Linked DNA regions of Homo sapiens: all the other regions are linked to region 2. The links are contacts of gene promoters, found by promoter capture Hi-C in human tissues and cell types (Jung and others, 2019). All regions are on one chromosome and are shown on one strand. Each heading gives the region's core, a stretch centred on a gene start or on the middle of the fragment in contact. The rest is flanking DNA. Distances are from core to core; before and after follow the strand shown. Region 1 overlaps ANKFY1 (ankyrin repeat and FYVE domain containing 1). Region 2 holds the start of SPNS3 (SPNS lysolipid transporter 3, sphingosine-1-phosphate (putative)). Region 3 holds the start of ANKFY1 (ankyrin repeat and FYVE domain containing 1).

Region 1 (2,710 bases), core at 11-2,510, 220 kb after region 2:
TACCTAAAGCCCATCTGTTAAGATTGGGAATTATCTGCTAGCTAGTTATGGTTAACAGTACTGAAATCCACTAATGTGGATTATTAAAATTAAGTGATTTCCTTTTGTGATTTTTCCTTAGTAAAGGAATTTCAGGTTTTAGAGACGAGAACGGCTAGTAGAGGGACCTCAAACTTCCGAGCATATTTACTACATACCTCAAGCTGTGCTGAGTGTAACTAGTTCTCCTCCATCTTGACAAACACACAAGTATTCCTCAAATATCTGAAGTAGAGTAACATCTTTATTTTATAGAGGAGGAGAGAGGGGCACAGAGAGCTCAAGTAATTTGGCCCCTAAAATGTAATGGGTCTCCACTCAGGTCTTTTTTACCTCATTGTTTATCTTGCTCTGTCCACCACATTCTGCCTTTGTGGTTAGAAAAGAGTTTTGGTGGAGGCTGCTGGCAGGGAAAACAATGGTGGATGTCAGGAAATCTCGTGAAACCATACTAGTCGTCTGTGACTGCCCTTGGAGGTGAACCTGATTTGGAGGGAGCAGTGGAGGCGAGGGAGGTGAAGGGCTGTTCCCTGGCCACCTTTTCCCCATGGGCCTGGTCTCATGGGAGACTCCCTAAGGCTTCCAGGAATTCTGGCATAGAGGAAGTGTGGTCTTTCCAATGCCATATCTTCCAGACTACAATGTGGTCCTGCTTTTGCTACCAGAGACCTATTTGCCTGCCTTCAGCTCTCTCTTCTCTGATGTAGTTGATGTTTTTTGTTTGTTTGTTTGTTTGTTTTTGTTTTGTTTTTTTTTTGAGACAGAGTCTCTGTCTGTCATCTAGGCAGGCGTACAGTGGTGCGATCACGGTTCACCGCAGCCTTGAACTCCTGGGCTCTTACCGCAGCCTTGAACTCCTGGGCTCTTACTTCAGCCTCCTGAGTAGCTGGGACTACAGGCACATGCTACCATGCCTGCCTAATTTCTCAATTGTTTTGGTAGAGACAGGGTCTTGCTGTGTTGCCCAGGCTGGTCTTGAACTCGTGGCCACAAGTACTCCTCCTGCCTTGGCCTCCCAGAGTGCTGGGATTACAGGTGTGAGCCTTTGCACCTGGCCGTGTTTCCTTATTAATGATTCTGAAAGAGTCTTGTTTTTATTATTATGCGGCTTTATGAGGACATCCATTGTAGCCAGTTTTTCTCTATTTTGGTGTACTGTGGTTTTGTTGTTACAGTAGAAATCTGATTTTTTTGGTGTGGGGGGTGTACTATGATTTGGCTATTTTTTCTAATTTTTTTTTTTTTTTGAGACGAGTCTTGCTCTGTCACCCAGGCTTGAGTGCAGTGGCACCGTCTCAGCTCACTGCAACCTCTGCCTCCCGGGTTCACGTGATTCTTGTGCCTCAGCCTCCCCAGTATCTGGGACTACAGGCAGCCCAGCTAATTTGTTTTTGTATTTGTAGTAAAGACGGGGTTTCGCTATGTTGCCCAGGCTGGTCACGACCTCCTGAGCTCAGGCAATCTGCCCGCCTTGGCTTCTGAAAGAGCTAGGATTATAGGTGTGAGCCACCACACCTGGCTGATTTGGCTGTTTTTTTCAAAACATTATAGATATTTTAGGTGAGTTTTTTCTTTTTTCTTTTTTTCTTTTTATTTTTTTTGTTGTTGTTGTTGATGGAGTCTCACTCCGCTGCCCAGGCTGGAGTGCAGTGGCGTAATCTCGGCTCACTGCAATCTCCGCCTCCTGGGTTCAAGCAATTCTCCTGTCTCAGCCTCCTGAGTAGCTGGGACTACAGGCGCCTGCCACCATGCCCGGCTAATTTTTGTATTTTTAGTAGAGACAGGGTTTCACCTTGTTGGTAAGGCTGGTCTCGAGCTCCTGACCTCAGTAGATCCTAGGTGGGGCTTTTAAAATACAGCTTTATTGAGTTATAATTCACATATCATACACATTCATCTTATAGGAGAGCTTTTTTTTTTTTTTTTTTTTTTTTGCGACAGAGTTTTGCCTTTGTCGCCCAGGCCGGAGTGCAATGGCACGATCTCAGCTCACTGCAACCTCCGCCTCCTGGGTTCAAGCGATTCTCCTGCCTCAGCCTCCCGAGTAGCTTGGATTACAGGCATGCGCCACCACAGCCGGCTAATTTTGTATTTTTAGTAGAGATGGGGTTCCTCCATGTTGGTCAGGCTGGTCTCGAACTCCCGACCTCAGGTGATCCACCCACCTCGGCCTCCCAAAGCGCTGGGATTACAGGCGTGAGCCACTGCACCCAGCCGGGAGAGCTTTTAAGGAGGTGTTAATTATTGAGCATAGAGCCTCGTATTTGAAACTATTTCTAAGACACACTGTTTGCATCATGCAGTTGTGGGAACTAAAGTGGTGTTCCACACAGTTAAATTTTCTTTGAAGGACAGAGGTTGATCCATTTTGTGCTTGATTCGACAATTACCTGTCTGTGTGATCAGCGGGTGTCGTATGTGTGCTGTTAAGGCAGTTGGGGTATTATGCTTAATCAGTTTATTTGCATGTTATTTTGATTCTGACCAGAATGGAGCAATGAAATATTATAATGAAATTCTAGTACTTTTTAAATATGGGAGACCAACTGTAATTTATTCATAACCCTTTGCTTAACCTTATCCCATAGTGTTATTAATAGGACATAGCCAGCCAGTACAAAGATGATCGCTTTGGTTTGTTCGTTTGTGAATTATTTGTCCAGTAATACTC
Region 2 (2,700 bases), core at 46-2,545:
CCCAGGCTGGTCACAAAGTCCTCACTTCAAGTGATCCGCCCACCTTGGCCTCCCACAGTGCTGGGATTACAGGCCTGAGCCACCGCACCCAGCCCTAAAATATTTTTAATTTTTTAAATAGAGACAGAGTTTCGGCTGGGCGCAGGGGCTCATGCCTATAATCCCAACACTTTGGGAGGCCGAGGCAGGCGGATCACCTGAGGTCTGGAGTTCGAGACAGCCTGGCATACACGGCAAAACCCCGTCTCTACTAAAAATACAAAAACTAGCCTGGCATGGTGGTATGCGCCTGTAGTCCCAGCTACTCGGGAGGCTGAGATAGGAATCGCTTGAACCTGGGAGGCAGAAGTTGCAGTGAGCCGAGATCGCGCCACTGCACTCCAGCCTGGGCAACAGATTGAGACTCTGTCTCAAGAAAAAAAAAAAAGGCCGGGCACGGTGGCTCATGCCTGTAATCCCAGCACTTTGGGAGGCCGAGGCGGGTGGATCACCTGAGGTCAGGAGTTCGAGACCAGCCTGACTAGCATGGTAAAACCCCGTCCCTACTCCTCCTCTACTCAAAATACAAAAATTAGCCGGATGTGGTGGTGCACGCCTGTAATCCCAGCTACTCGGGAGGCTGAGGCAGGAGAATCACTTGAACCTGGGAGACAGAGGTTGCAGTGAGCTGAGATTGCGCCACTACACTCCAGCCTGGGCGACAGAGCGAGACTCTGTCTCAAAAAAAAAAATAAATAAATAGAGACAGAGTCTCACTATGTTGTCCAGGTTGGTCTCAAACTCCTGGGCTCAAGCAATCTTCCTGCCTCAGCCTCCCAAAGTGCTGGAATTACAAGCGGGAGCCACCATGCCCAGCCTGTGTCCCTTCTTAGTTGAGGCTGGATTGGGAACATCAGTTGGTCCTCCCCGATTCGAGCACAGCTGAAAACCACCTCTAGAGGTGAGAACACCAGAGATGGGCCCAGGAGCAGAAAGATGGGTGATGGCTGGAAGGCCACCATGGATCTGCAGCCCCTGGCTGGTGGGCACAGCAGCAGGTACTGCCCAGGGTAGCCATCCCCTCCTCACCTGCAATGATGAACCAGTTCATGTAATTCAGGAGGTTGATGTAGCAGAGGACGGCGGCAGCCACGTAGGCCCTCCACGGGGGCAGGCTCCAGGAGGTGGGCGTGATGGGAGGGGGACACTGCCTGCCTGGCCCTGGGGACTGGCCCTGCAGACCTCCTGGCCCAGGCTCAGGGCACTCCGCTGACATCCCCCCAGCCATGCCAGCCTGCAGCTCTTGGCCTGAGACTGGCGCCAGGATGAAGCAACATTAGCTCAGCACGAAGTCACTTCCTGTGGGGTCCCAGGCTCCAAACCTCAAAGCACCTGCCCTAACTGTTGGGCGTCTTATCGCAGGTTCCTCCTGACCCCACGGCAGCTTCACCAGTGCGATTTCCCCATCGTCAGCCTCTGAGACCTGCTACGGAGGACAAGGGCTCCTGGCACCCCCACCCTGGGGACTGGACAACTCTGTGGTCCCCTTGATCTAGCCTGCAGCTTCAGTGGCTGCAGTGAGGAAGGGAAGCTTCCAGGGCAGGAAATGAGATGAGCCTCCCAGAGTGCTGCTTGCTGTGAGATGGTCTAGCTGCCCGTACGGGACTGTGAACCAATGCCTTGAAGCCGGGGCAAATGAGGAAGGCTGGGCATTGGCCAGGACAGCAGCATTGCACTCGACTGCCAGGCAGGATGAGCACCTACCCAGGATCTAAGGTCCTTCCCGGAAAAACAAAGGTAGCAGAGGGGGCTGCCTACAAGAAGACAGCCTGTGTGCAAAACTCATCAGTGGGGGCTAAATCTGGGGGGAAGACTTCAGTGAGGGGGGAGGGTGTCAGCACGGTCACGAAGCATCTCTTGATAGATTGCTTATTAGTAACAAAAGGAAAAAGAGTAACTATACAGTAGAGGAATCAGACATCTTGACCAAGGGGTTAAAATAAATCACCTGTGAGAGGCAGGAGGGTGTCGTGTGCCTCCAGATGTGAAGGTCTTCGCAGGTCACAGCATCATCTATGTGGCATTCCAGCCAGGAAGGCACAACCGGAATCTCATCATGAGAAGACATCAGCCAGACGCGGTGGCTCGCACCTGTAATCCTAACACTGGGAGGCCAAGACAGGAGGATCATCCAAGCCCAGAAGTTTGTGACCAGCCTGGGCAACATGGTGAAACCCCATTGCTACAAAAATACCAAAAAAATAAAAAATTTTAAAAAAAAATAGCCGGGTGTAGTGGTGTGCGTCCACAGTCCCAGCTACTTGGGAGGCTGAGGTAGGAAGGATCGCCTTAGCCTGGGAAGTCGAGGCTGCAGTGAGCCATGTTCGTGCCACTGCACTCCAGGCTGGGTGACAAAGCAAGACCCCAACTCAAAAAAAAAAATTTTTTTTTTAATTTTTAAAATGAAAAAACATCAGACAAGCCCAAATTGAGAAACACTATTTCTTTAAAGGGACTGTATATTGAAAAATGTCAGAGTCATGAAAGACTAAGAAAGACTGAGGGAGCTAGGCGTGGTGGCTCACGCTTGTTATCCCAGCACTTTGGGAGGCCGAGGCAGGTGGATCACCTGAGGTCGGGAGTTCAAGATCAGCCTGACCAATGTGGAGAAACCCCGTCTCTACTAAAAATACAAAACTAACTAGGCATGGTGGCAGGTGC
Region 3 (2,700 bases), core at 98-2,597, 170 kb after region 2:
CTCCTGATGCTCCTTTCCTTTCCTACCTCTAAATCCCAACATCTAATTTTCCTGCCTTCTCACTTCCACTTCAGCCACTCTATTCCGTGGCTCTGTCCTGGACTTTTTTTTTTTTTTTTTGAGACAGAGTCTCACTCTGTTGCCCAGGCTGGAGTGCAGTGGCACAATCTTGGCTCACTGCAACCTCTGCCTCCCGGGTTCAAGCGATTCTACTGCCCCAGCCTCCCGAGTAGCTGGGATTACAGGCATGCACCACCACGCCCGGCTAATTTCTGTATTTTTAGTAGAGACGGGGTTTCACCATGTTGGCCAGGCTGGTCTTGAGCTCTAGACTTCAGGTGATTCACCCTCCTCGGCCTCCCAAAGTGCTGGGATTACAGGCGTGAGCCACCACGCCCGGCCTGTCCTGGACTTTTCTCATCTCCTAGTGCTACTTCACTATGAACCTGTTTGCCACTTTAACCACCAAGCTCTCACAACATTGCCTGCACTGCACTGGCCTTCAATTATCAGAGACCTGCAGTTTCGTGGCTCCTCCATCAGTCCCTAGCCAGTCTGTATCCCACGTTTGATGGCCTGGGCTGTCGTCTCATAGCACCCTCAATTTATTTTGGGCAATGCAATCCCAAGCCCTGGATAAATGCTATAATTCAAAATATCTGCTACTGCAGCCTGGTGGCTGAGTTCTAGAAAAAAGTGATCCATCAACACATACATGAGGCACATGAAACCAGGCCTTCCAACTTCAGCGTCCTCTTCCAAAGTTTCTTTGCTCTTCTTGGTCTCCTTCCTTGTCTCATAACTTCACCCATAAAATCGATGTCATCAAACGATCTCCCTGATTTTCTTCCCCCCTATATATCTGCACGCATGTTCTTGTTTCCTACCGTTTTAGTGGAATAACAGGTGACCTGCCTCTAGTCTAAATTTAATCCGTTTTCCTGAGTTCTGCATCGCATGCAGAGCATCCTACCTCCCCAGGGACCTCTCCACTGACTCCTTTCTCCCAGCCTCTCCTTTCTTTACAAACCTAAGGACCAACAAACCCCCTCTCTCGACCCTCTCATTGCCAAGCTTCTCCAGAGTAGTCTGCATTCGTTGTGTCATCCTTTTCGGTGCCCTGCCAAGGACGTGGAATATGACAGGGCTCAGTCAGTGCTTAATAAATCTCGAGCCTCAAAAATACCCGGTAAAAAGAAACCCGGCTCTCCGCTTCCCCCAGAGTCCAGCAACCCCCTCCGCTTTCATTCACCCACTTTCCTACCCTCGGCTCCGCCTTTTGCCGCGCCTCCCGCGATTCTCGCGAGACTTGGTGATTCCGTTCCGCACCGCCCCGGTTGAGCCGCGCACTTCTCGCGAGGTTGCAGGCAGTGCCGGGCCAGACATGGCGGAAGGTAGGGTTTTTTTGTGGAGCCGCGCGGGAAGACACGGAGCTGTGGGGGCGCTGCTGGCCGTGCGAAGCTGCCGTGGGAGGGGAAGGCCGGGCGTGGTTGCATGGGGGCTCCGCGGGTCTCGCGAGCCTTCCTGTCTAGCCTCTCCGGAGCTTCTCGGGCCGGGGTCCGGAGCGCGGTTCCTATGACAACGTCCCTCCCGCGATGCCGACCCCGCGGGACTGCGGCCGGCTGCGGAGCCGGGCTGGCAGGTCCCGCGCCGGTGCTGCGTGCAGCCGCGGGGCCCCGAGGGCAGCACGGGAGGCTCTTGATTGCCGGCGGTGCCGGGACGCCGGGGGAAGTAAGCCTTCTCCTTAGGAAATCGAAACTGCTGTCCTGGCACGTTCTGCATCCGGAAGGGGTCCATCCCTCGCTTGCGGAAGAGCGTGGGTCTCCTCGGGCTGGGTTGGGGTGAGGTGGGGTGGGGTGGGGGCGAGGCAGCAGCGAGCTGGCCCACGCTTCAGGCGGGCGCACTGGCGGCTCCGGCTCTGCTGCAACCCCAGCCTTCAGGCCAGGCGTACAGATGAAGACGGGAGGAAGGGGTTTGCGGGAAGGGAGTTGGCCAAGGTCACACTGCTCACAAGAGGGCTGCTCAAACCAGACCTCTGTGCCTTTGCCTCCCCGTCCAGTGCCTACCCTCTGGTCTCGTGCACTTTTCATGACATTGCAGCTTAAGGCACTCTGGTCTCTCAGAGTCTGCCTGTCTTAATGTAGCAGTAATTAGAAGCCTTCATTGTCAAAGCCTTATTGTACACGTAGGGGGAAAGAAGGCCCAGAGACGGGGAGTTACCTGTCAGGAATCGTGCAGGGACATTGTTGGATCTGGGCAGCCTGGTTCTCCTCTTCACCCCATTATTGGAGAACAGTATTCCTTATTTGACCTTTGTTTATTGAGTGACTGCAGTGTGCTTGGCCACGACCTTTCCTGTTGGTTTTGAGCTTTGACTGAACCCATCACTTGATGGATCTTAGATTTGGGCAGCACCTGACAGTTGGTCGGCTTTTCTCATTTGCATTAGACTTCAGATAACCTCGTGAAGGAGGCCTGGCGTGTGTATTTGCCTTTATTGATAAAGGAATTTAGGCAAAGTTACAGAGATAGCTGTGACTGACACCCAGTTGGTTTTGGGGGGTGTGTGTGTGTGTTTTGAGATAGGGTCTCGCTCTGTCCCACCGGCTGGAGTACAGTGGCGCGGTCACGGCTCACTGTAGCTTCAGTCTCCTGGGCTCAAGCGATCCTTCTGCCTCAGCCTCCTGAGTAGCTGGGACC

The links. The method cuts DNA at HindIII sites, captures the fragments that hold promoters and counts their contacts. A contact is called where the count stands out against the background at its distance.
Region 1: a contact is called between a fragment that was not itself captured here and the fragment with the promoter of SPNS3 in region 2, in 1 of the 25 tissues and cell types used here (lymphoblastoid cells).
Region 3: a contact is called between the fragment with the promoter of ANKFY1 here and the fragment with the promoter of SPNS3 in region 2, in 1 of the 25 tissues and cell types used here (thymus).

What each region holds. Positions count from the first base shown.
Region 1 is chr17:4,209,972-4,212,681 of GRCh38, reverse strand. All of the region lies in intron 4 of ANKFY1 (ankyrin repeat and FYVE domain containing 1), which reads left to right. Among named protein-coding and RNA genes, the nearest start is that of ANKFY1, 53 kb to the left of the region's middle. The HindIII fragment of the contact is 4,377 bases long and covers 1-2,710 here.
Region 2 is chr17:4,432,535-4,435,234 of GRCh38, reverse strand. It overlaps SPNS3 (SPNS lysolipid transporter 3, sphingosine-1-phosphate (putative)), which reads right to left and starts at 1,295. Exons shown (of 12, transcript NM_182538.5): 1 at 1,069-1,295. The coding sequence starts at 1,267. RefSeq lists an enhancer at 579-1,233. The HindIII fragment of the contact is 23,733 bases long and covers 1-2,700 here.
Region 3 is chr17:4,262,626-4,265,325 of GRCh38, reverse strand. ANKFY1 (ankyrin repeat and FYVE domain containing 1) reads left to right here and starts at 1,347. Exons shown (of 25, transcript NM_001330063.2): 1 at 1,347-1,394. The coding sequence starts at 1,385. RefSeq lists an enhancer at 1,161-1,250 and a silencer at 1,901-2,050. The HindIII fragment of the contact is 4,200 bases long and covers 223-2,700 here.